Regions from separate parts of the Homo sapiens genome. Here region 1 is linked to region 2. The links are contacts of gene promoters, found by promoter capture Hi-C in human tissues and cell types (Jung and others, 2019). All regions are on one chromosome and are shown on one strand. Each heading gives the region's core, a stretch centred on a gene start or on the middle of the fragment in contact. The rest is flanking DNA. Distances are from core to core; before and after follow the strand shown. Region 1 overlaps PRKCE (protein kinase C epsilon). Region 2 holds the start of SRBD1 (S1 RNA binding domain 1).

Evidence for each region. Contacts are between HindIII fragments. The study calls those that stand out against the background at their distance.
Region 1: a contact is called between a fragment that was not itself captured here and the fragment with the promoter of SRBD1 in region 2, in 2 of the 25 tissues and cell types used here (bladder and liver).

What each region holds. Positions count from the first base shown.
Region 1 is chr2:45,756,176-45,761,257 of GRCh38, forward strand. The region is part of intron 1 of PRKCE (protein kinase C epsilon); the gene reads left to right. Among named protein-coding and RNA genes, the nearest start is that of PRKCE-AS1, 83 kb to the left of the region's middle. The HindIII fragment of the contact is 6,911 bases long and covers 1-5,082 here.
Region 2 is chr2:45,608,786-45,613,670 of GRCh38, forward strand. It overlaps SRBD1 (S1 RNA binding domain 1), which reads right to left and starts at 2,482. Exons shown (of 21, transcript NM_018079.5): 1 at 2,434-2,482. RefSeq lists an enhancer at 2,133-2,302. The HindIII fragment of the contact is 13,717 bases long and covers 1-4,885 here.

The DNA of each region.
Region 1 (5,082 bases), core at 1,231-3,730, 150 kb after region 2:
AGACAGGGATAAACATTTGCTTATCAGATGAAGATCCACCCTGTTTTCTAGGATCCTGGACTTCTTTGAAAAAGCATGCCTCCAAATACCAGATGATAGGGCAGAGAGGAAGAAGAGGATTAAGGGTATCCTGCTCCCAGGCTCTAGGGGTTCTGCTGGAAAGGAAATAGTGGGGTGGATTAGAGAGGATGGGAAAGTACAAAACTTCAGATGTAGAAAAAGTTTGATCGTATAGTCTCTCTGGAAAACATTTTGCAAGTTTCTTAAAAAGTTAAACGTAAACCTACCATGTGATCCAGCCATTTCACTCTAGGCCTTAATTCAAGATAAATGAAAGCATTTGTCCATTCAAAATCTGTCATGAATGTTCATAGCAGCTTCACTTGTAATAGTCTTAAACTGGAAACAACCCAATCTTTCATCAAGATAGAATGGATAAACAAATTGTGGTATATCTATACAATGGATACTATTTAGTAATAAAAAGGAATGGATGGATTAATCTCAAAATAATTATGCTGAGTGAAAAAAACAGACAATTTGGAATGCACATTATATGATTCCATTCATATAACATTTTGGAAAATGCAAGCTAATCTATAAGATAGGAAGTAAAACAGTGGTTGCCTCAGGATGGAGGTTGTGTGGGAGGGGCAGGAGCAAGAGATTATAAACTCTATGAGGAAACTTTGTGGGCTGAAGGATATGTTCATAATCTTGATTATGTGATGGTTTCACAGGGGTATATGTGTGTCAAAACTTATCAAGGTTTACTCTTATTTAAAGAGTGTTCAGCTGGGCGTGGTGGCTCATGCCTCTAATCCCAGCACTTTGGGAGGCCGAGGCGGGTGGATCACTTGAGGTCAGGAGTTTGAGATCAGTCTGGCCAACATGGTGAAACCCCATCTCTACTCCAAATACAAAAATTAGCCAGGCTAATTTAGAGACAGGTGAGACACCTGTATCACGCTAATTTAGAGACACCTATAGAGACAGGTGGTGCATGCCTGTAATCCCAGCGACTTGGGAGGCTGAGGCAGGAGAATCACTTGAACCCAGGAGGCGGAGTTGCAGTGTGTTGAGATTGCACCACTGCACTCCAGCTTGGGCAACAGAGTGAGACTGTCTCCAAAAAAAAAAAAAAAAAAAAAAAAAAAGAGTGTTCAATTGATTGTGGGTAAACTGTCCATTAATAAAGCTATTATAAAGAGCTGGGCATCATAGTTCATGCCTGTAATCCCAATACTTTTGGAGGCCAAGGCAGGAGAATTGCGTGTGGACAGGAGTTTAAAACCAGTCTGGGCAACATAGTGAGACTGTGTCTCTACAAAAAATAATAAAATTAGCTGGATGTGGTGGCATGCAGCTGTAGTGCCAGTAACTTGGAAGGCTGAGGCAGGAGGATCATTTGAGCCCAGGAGTTAGAGGTTACAGTGGCCATGATCACAACACTGCACTCCAGCCTGGGTGACAGAGCAAAATCCTGTCTCTATTAAAAAATAATAAATAATAAATAAAAGTGATAATTTAGAGATTCAATGCAAGTCAGTTAAACAAGCCATTATTGCCAACTCCTTACATTCCCATCCCCCACATGGAATTCATTCATTTCATTGGAAATGAGAGGAGAAAAAATAGCCTCAGCGTGCTTAGGATGGCAGGGGAGGACCACTGTCAAAACTGAATGTACATAAGGCAGGTCTTGACGGAGGTTGATGCTGGCAAAAACAAAAGGAACTGCCTTTGAGGACTAGTCAAGGGAAGCTCTGGGGCAGATGTAGGATCCAAGTGACTTCAATGACTGGGGACAATGTTAAAGGCAGTGAGGTACAAAATAAGCAAGGCCTAAAAGACGGAATCAACAGGCTTTGTTGAAGAACCAGGGGAGACCAGTACAGAGAAGGCTGAGGGTGCAAGGGGCTACTTTCAAGAATGAAAGCTAGATGGGCTGAGACAGATTGCCTCTCTATGCATCCTGGCTGCACCACTTAAAAACTGGGCAACCTTTGGGTAAATGACCTAAGTTCCCTGTGCCTTGGTTTTTCCATCTGTGAAATGGGAATAGTAATACATACCTCATGATGTTACACTGAACATTAAATGAATTACTGCATGAAAAGTATTTAGAACCATGCCTGGCATAAACTAAGTGCTTAATAAATGTTATTGCTACTGTAATTATTATCTACTCTTGGGGAGAATCTTGAATGCTAGGATTATTACAAAACAAGCAATAGGTACAGCAGTGAGAACCCCTAAACAAAAGTTTGAGAAACTGCTTCTAGCTTGTCCCTACCTCAGAGTCTTTGCACTTGCTGAGACAACTCTGCCTGGAACACTTTTCCTTGAGATGAACTCCTGCCTCACTCCCTCACATATTTTGATCTGTGCCCAAATGTTACCCCATCAGAGAGGCCTTCGCCAGCCACTATATTGAAAATTGCAGGCCCTTCCTCCCCTACTGCCTAACATAGGTATGTATCTTTATTTGCTTATTTTTCCTTCCTCCCACTAGAATGGAAGTTCTGTAAGCTCTTTAAGAATATGGACTTTGTTTTCTCTACAGTTATGTCCCCTGAGCCTAGGACACTGCCTGGAATGTAGTGGATGCTCAATAAATTTTTGTTGACTAGAAGATTTATTAGGCTGTGTCTTAGGGGTGAATCACCTAGCGTCTTCAGGCCTCAGCCTCCTCACCTGTAAAGTGCAGAGGGTGCATTGCAGCCTGAAGGTGATGTGAATTTGTGGGGAGTCCGGCGTGTTGTCTTGAACAAGGGAGTGATATGGTGAAGGGACCGTGGGAGAGTATCAGCACTCATGAGATAGCAGGAGAGCTTCCGGGTCATGCCTCCCACAGGGTGATTGAATTTACAAAGTGAATTTAGTTATTTATAGGTGATTTTGAAGATGACTTTCCAAACTCTCCCCTCTCCCCAATGGGGCACTGTGCTGTCCCCTGCCCCTGCCCTCCATTGAGAACCCCTTCTCTAGACACATACAGGGACAGAATATGCCAGAACAAGGCAGTATTGATAAAATGACAAATAAGTGACAAATAAGTGGTATGTGGGCTCATGGTTTTAGTATGTCTTGAGCTGCTCTGTTTTGAAGGACAGCTGACTCCAGGTTCTGGGCATAAGGAGCACATTAGGCTGACGGGGCCTGGAGGCTGGAGAGGAGCTGACACACGTGTGAGAGGAGGAGCCAGCCAGATGGCTCCGATTTATCCATGTCGGTGCAGGGCTGGAGAACGAGCTCGGCCCAGCTGGGACGCTACTGCTGTGAGGCTTCCCGTGCATCTCAGACCTTGAGAGACCAAGCCTCTCTTTTCACACCTGAGCTCCTGCAGGAAGCAAGGGCTGCGGTGGCTGGGAGATGCCTGTTGTTCCTCACATTCAGCAATTAGCGCCATCTCCTTAAGGGCAGACCTCCACGTAGCTGTAATCTGAAATGTCAGTTATTACACTCTTTGATGTAAGTATAGAAGTGCCTCGGTTATGATCTCAGGAGTAAGACAGAAATAGCTAGTCAGTGTGGTGAGTAATCTGCTAAAAGCATTCACAGGGATCATCCTCGCCATGGCATTATGTGCTGTTTAAAATCTGAGTAAATGCTTAGGAGTCCGGCATTCAGAGATGCAGGGAGGGGCGGTGGAATCTCTTGGAGGAATCCTGGCTTAAGTCTCCTCACTGCTTCTGTTGCAGGTGATGGATCATGCCTATGCTATTCTTTGAGTTTCTAATGTGTAGTTAGATTTTATGGGGGATACTGAAGGGCATGGGAGCAGCCCTTGAGTCTTAGCTTAGGTCCCAGTTAGGAGGGACAATACCTATGCACGCAAAAGCAGATGCATTTGAAAGTGCTGCAGGAAAGGGCTGTAACAGCTGCTGGAATTACAGGAGGGAGCAATCTCTGTGGAGTGAGGTGATCAGGGAAGGTTACTTGGAGGAGGCAGGCTGTGAAAAGGAGAAGAGATTAGGGGTAGAATGTATTGCTTTTACTTGGTTCCTGACCTGCCTCTGTCTTCTCAGGATGGAGGCATCTTCCTGCAAACCACCTTATCCAATAAAATTAACACACAAATAGAAAATCAAGGCCACAGAAAGAAAGAAAGTGGCTAGTATGGTTGCTCCAGTTGAGCACTGGATTTGGTTTTGCACTTCTTGGCAGCCAGGACATAATGAAAACCAGGTGAATCGCACAGCTTTATTGATCAGAAAGGGGAAAGTCTACCAACTCTTCAGGGGAGGCAAAATTCTTCCTGGCACATTTTTCTAAAATCATTTTCTCATGTGGGAGTTTACATAAAAGACACAGTGGCATAATAAACATAGGTCCATCGACAACAAAAGCCTTCATAAGCGTGGAGGATTGAACACCAAGGCGTGACACGATGAAGGTAATTTGGCCAGTGGCTAAGCTGGCAAGGTCCAGTGATGTGGCTTTTAGGGGCTCTGGCTTGATGTAAAATTAACTTAGAATCATTTTCTTGAAGACGAGACTGAAGACAAATTCCCAAAGGAGGCTTTGTAGTGGACATTCAGAGGGGAAAGCTCGTTGGCCTTGGTGAGATTATACCCGGTGAAAGGATGTGGGTGCCCTCCTGCCCCTGGGTTCCCACTTTCCATCATATAATTACCCTGTCTGGGTATCGGATTTGGTGCTGAGTGTCCTGGTGTCCAGAGGCATAAAGGGAAACGCACGTCTGATTCCAGAGTCCAGAGCTGACCTTGTCTCTTTACCAAAACCCTTAGTATACTATTCCCTGGTTTATCTTAACTGGGGCATTAGAGCACCTGCTCTTGACTTTGACATGTTCTCAAGGAGTTTGAAGTCTAGACAGGGTGATTTTACTTAAAAAAAAATTTAAGGCCGGGCATGGTGGCTCACGCCTGTAATCCCAGCACTTTGGGAGGCCAAGGTGGGCGGATCACGAGGTCAGGAGATTGAGACCATCTTGGCTAACACGGTGAAACCTCGTCTCTACTAAAAATACAAAAAATTAGCCGAGTGTGGTGGTGGGCGCCTGTGGTCTCAGCTACTCGGGAGGCTGAGGCAGGAGAATGGCGTGAACCCGGGAGG
Region 2 (4,885 bases), core at 1,232-3,731:
CCACCTATTTGCTAAGCCAGAACCTTGAAAAAAAAAATTTTTTTTTTTTTTTGAGACGGTCTCACTCTGTCACCCAGCCTGGAGTGATCTCAGCTCACTGCAAACTCTGCCTCCCAGGTTCAAGCAATTCTCCTGCCTTAGCCTCCTAAGTAACTGGGATTACAGGCGTGTACCACCACACCCAGCTAATTTTTCTATTTTTGATAGAGACGGGGTTCGTCACGTTGGCCAGGCTGGTCTCGAACTCCTGGCCTCAGGTGATCTGCCTGCCTCGGCCTCCCAAAGTGCTGGGATTACAAGTGTGAGCCATGGCGCCTGGCCAGAAAATTCTTTAACAGCTTCATTGACATATAATTGACATGCAATACACTGCACATGTTTAAAGTGTGCAAATTTGATGTTTTGACATATGTATACATATCACTACAATCAAGAAAATGAACACATTATCATCCTCCAAAGTTCCATTTGCTAAGTCAAAATGTTACAAATCTTTTTTTCTTTCATCTCACATATCCAGACTATTAGTAAGTCACATAAGATCCTCCTCCAAAATGTCTTGAATCTCCACGATCTTCAGTGAGCCTTTAGTCCTCAACCTCCCTCACTTGAACTACCACACTCGCCTCTTAACTGCCCTCCCTACTTCCACTCTTGCCCCTGCAACTCATTCTCCACTTATCAACTCAAGATCATTTAGAATATGCTTTAGAAACAACGAATTACTTCCCACCCCATCCTTCACTTAGAATCAAGCCACATTTTTATGAGGCCTTTGAAAAGGCCCTGTCGGACTGAGCCCTGCTCACCTTTCTAACCACCTTTACTACTTGCTGGAGCTCCTCAGCTCTTGTCATAACATTCTTTCCCACCTCAGGTACTCTCTGCCTGGAGTATTCTTCCCCCTGCTTGTCAATTGGCTGGCTCCTTGCATCCCTTAGATCTTAACATTTCAGGCCTAAAATAGGTTTCTCAATTATATTTTAAAAGGAGCCTATTTACTTCCTGTATACAGTAGGTTATAACACAATCTGTAATTATTTTTATTTTACTTGTTTATTGCTTGCACTGCTGTCAAGAGAGTAAATACCATGAAAGAAGGAAATGCATGTGCCTTATTCACTTCCATATCATAGAACCTAGCACTTAACAGATGCCCTACAACTATTAAATGAACATAATATGTACAAATATGGTCTCTACAGAGGAATATACATTTATTTTCCACCACTCTTAGGCAATGCCACACATTGCATTCATCTCTTTCTGAAGAAGTGATGGCACATAAGAATATTCCTATTCTTCAGTGACTTGGGATTTTTCCCTCCTTTCAAACTATCTTAATCACTGTAGGCACATGAGCATATTCCAAACCAATAATTTGGAGGTTGCTATGATGTTACTAAGGGAAGAGCCACTAAACTAGGACGACTGCAAATCAGGACAAAGGGGCAAAAGGACGTGCACACTAACAAATACTAAATTAAAATTGGAAAAAAAAATTTAAATTCAAGAAGGCAAACAAAGGAGGACAATTTCTTAAGAAGCACCTAAACAAGTTTCCATGAAGGACCAACAGAGTGCTTGAATGTTAGCAGATTCCCAAGTCACAAAAACAAAATACTAGAGCTGAAAGAACCTGAGATCAGACAGTCCCGCTATATTCAGAAATCTGAGACCCAATGAGGTGAAACAGTTTACTCAAAGGGGAAAGATATGTGGCAAAGGACTATAGCCCAGTGCCTGGAACACCAAGACTAGTCTCGTTTCCCATTCCACACACAATATGTTAATGACATGTCACGTGAGGGGTTCGAGGAAAGTTGCCTAGAGAGTTCCCAATTCATTCCTTTCCTCCGGTTACTGAGCGCCTCCTACATGCCAGGCGCACTACAGAAGGTGCAGTTGATTCAGACAGGGCCACCATGACCGTGAAAAGGGTGCTTCCTCTCCCACCTCCGATAATTTTAGGTATAAAAACAATCCAGGTAAATTAGCCGGGTGTGATGACGGGCGCCTGTAGCCCCAGCTACTCGGGAGGCTGAGGCAGGCGAATGGCGTGAATCCGGGAGGCGGAGCTTGCAGTGAGCCGAGATCGCTCCACTACACTCCAGCCTGGGCGACAGAGGGAGACTCCGTCTCAAAAAAAAAAAAAACAGGCTTGCCCAGGCTTTTCTATGTCTGTTATGCGCTAAGAGCTGCAGCAATTTGGCTGAAAAGAGGTGTCACGAGGTAGCTAGGAGGGGTTTTCGGGTGGTCGGTTGTGAGAGACCGCTGACAGTAAAATGTAATGAACTTCTCACTTTTAAAAAAGGGGTGTTATTGCCCAAATGAGCGCTCAGAACTTTTTTAATGGCCCCAAAGATCCCGGAGCCCGGACGCCGGGCTCTTGAGAACCCGCAAGACGACCGCCAAGGCGCACGCACAGCTCACCTTCCCGCCCGGCACGTCAGAAGACCCGAGATTCCGTGAGTGCCACCGCACCTTCCGGTTCCCGCCGGAAGTTTTTCAAACGCCAGAAGGTCCGCCTCGCTTCTTCCGGACCAAGTTAGCCACAGACCTCCAAGGCGCGGCGCTACCGAACGGGGCGGAGCCAGGCTGGACGGAGGCGGGGCTAGAGCGAGGATCCCGAGGGAGCGCCGGGGTGGGGCTGGTTCGTAGAAATGAAAAATGACTTTTTTTTTACGTGTTATTTACCAAGAACACTAAACTCTTAAGCCCACAGATACAGCCAAATAAATTAGATTATAAAAGTAGGGAAATAAGGCTGCTGTTGTCTACATTCGAATTTAGCAGATCAAAACCCCATGGATTTGTTTTAGAAAATTCTAAAAAGCAGCTTTCCACTGCTAATGACTTATTTCCAGGGACTCTGAGTACTGAAGAGCCTAGCAAGTTATTGAAATGACCTGTGACCGTGCCTTGTTGCAGATCTACCGGAAGTGAGCATAGATTTTACTGGATAATTTTTGTGATTGGGGGAAAAAAAAAAGGATTCTTTCTAAATTTAGTAAATCTAATCTTCTATATCTGAGATTGTTGGCCAGGAAAGATCAGTTTCCGAGATTGTTTAGGGATTTTTTTTTCCTTTTAATTAGCACAGTCGTATGTTGCCTTTAGTGATGGTTCCAGAAGGCCTAGAATTGTCTACTACAATCACAGTCTCCTTCACAATTTATGGTCCTGAAGAAATACTAGAGAACACCTTACCGTTCAGGATTGTGGGAAGAGAAACCAGATCATAGAAATCAACAACAATAATGTACTACTTACTATTCACCTACTTTTGATGTTGCATTTGCTACTCAGGTTTATGGTAAGGGGTTGTCTTGGTCAATTTTCTGCTGCTGTAACCAAATACCATAGACTGGTAGATTTATAAAGAAAGAGATTTGTTTGGCTTGTAGTTCTGAAGGCTGGGAAGTCCAAGACAGAGGGCATTATTGTTGTGTCAAAATATGATGGAGGGCATCATACTGGGGTAGGGGTGGGGGAGGCATGTGAACCCAATTGACTCCCGAAATAACTAACCCTCCTGTGATAATGGAATTAACTCATTCATGACCTAATCATTTCCTAAAGGTCCCACCTCTTCATACTATTACAATGACAAGTTTCAACTTGAATTTTTGAAGGGGACATTCCAATCATTGCAGAGGTAGTAAGGGTAAAGGTGAACTAATATACTGCAAAGTCTTTTGACATAAGTCCTGCCCTGGAGGAATTTACGACCAAGAGTAGGAACCAGATACAGCCAGAGGAAACAGACACCCAAGCAAAACAGTCTAGCTTCAAGGGTTGGGTATGCAGGTAGTAGCCACACTACAGTGAGGAGGAGAGTAAGAGTGGGCCAGCAAAGCATTGAAGCTTGACTTTCCTCTCCCCACAAGGGATTTTTGCCTTACAGCTGGGGAAGAAAAAAAAAATCACAAAAATAAATAGCCTGTTAAGATTTTAGACATCAGACATCTGGGGAAAATAAAATCTGAAGCAGGTTCTCTAAAATTAAAGTATGTAGGTAGTGGCCTACTCTAAAGGCCAATAAGGACTGTCCAGAGAATATTTCCCTTGGAATTCTATAAGAGAGTCACTCCCACTACACGCTGTCAAGGAAAATTTGTAATCACTTAAGTATAAAACAGGCCCTCCCACAAAAACTGCCTTTTCTGTCTAGGACATTGCCCAATCTATTGTTTACTTTTGGATCTCAAGTGCTGAATTCCAAGAAATTCATGGGTTTAGACTGAAAGCCTGGAATAATCCGGACACCCACCTGAGACTATGCAATAGGGTTTGGGAGTAATGAAAACATGTTTTGGATTTGATGGAGGTTGTTTTATCCCTCCAAAGTATATAGCTCTTCCCATGATATTCACTGATACATTATCATTTGTATGTTATTATCTGTTTTCAAGTCCTTCCCCTATGGGTTCTAGCTCCCCAGGGCAAATGTAATAATAATAGTAATAACTTACCTTTATTGATTACTTACCTGTGCCAGGCACTAAGTTAATGCTTTTAGATGTATTTATGTATATAATTCACATATTACCCCAATGCAATATTGCTATTAAACCATTTTTATAAATGAGAATACCAGGTATAAAGAAGTTAAATAATTCATCTAAGGTCACATCAGCTAATAAATTGTAGATCTGAGATTCAAATCCAATAATCTGCTTTACTCCAAAGCAAGTACTCTGAAAGGTATCCACATACAATTTGCTGTCTATCCACAGGGGATTGGTCTGAGGACCCCCCACAGATAGCAAAATTTACAGATACTCAACCAATCAGTGATAGAAAAAGTTGGCCCACCACATCTGCAGGTTCCATATCCATGAATGCAGATACAGATGGCCAGCTGTACCACAAACTCAAAGCA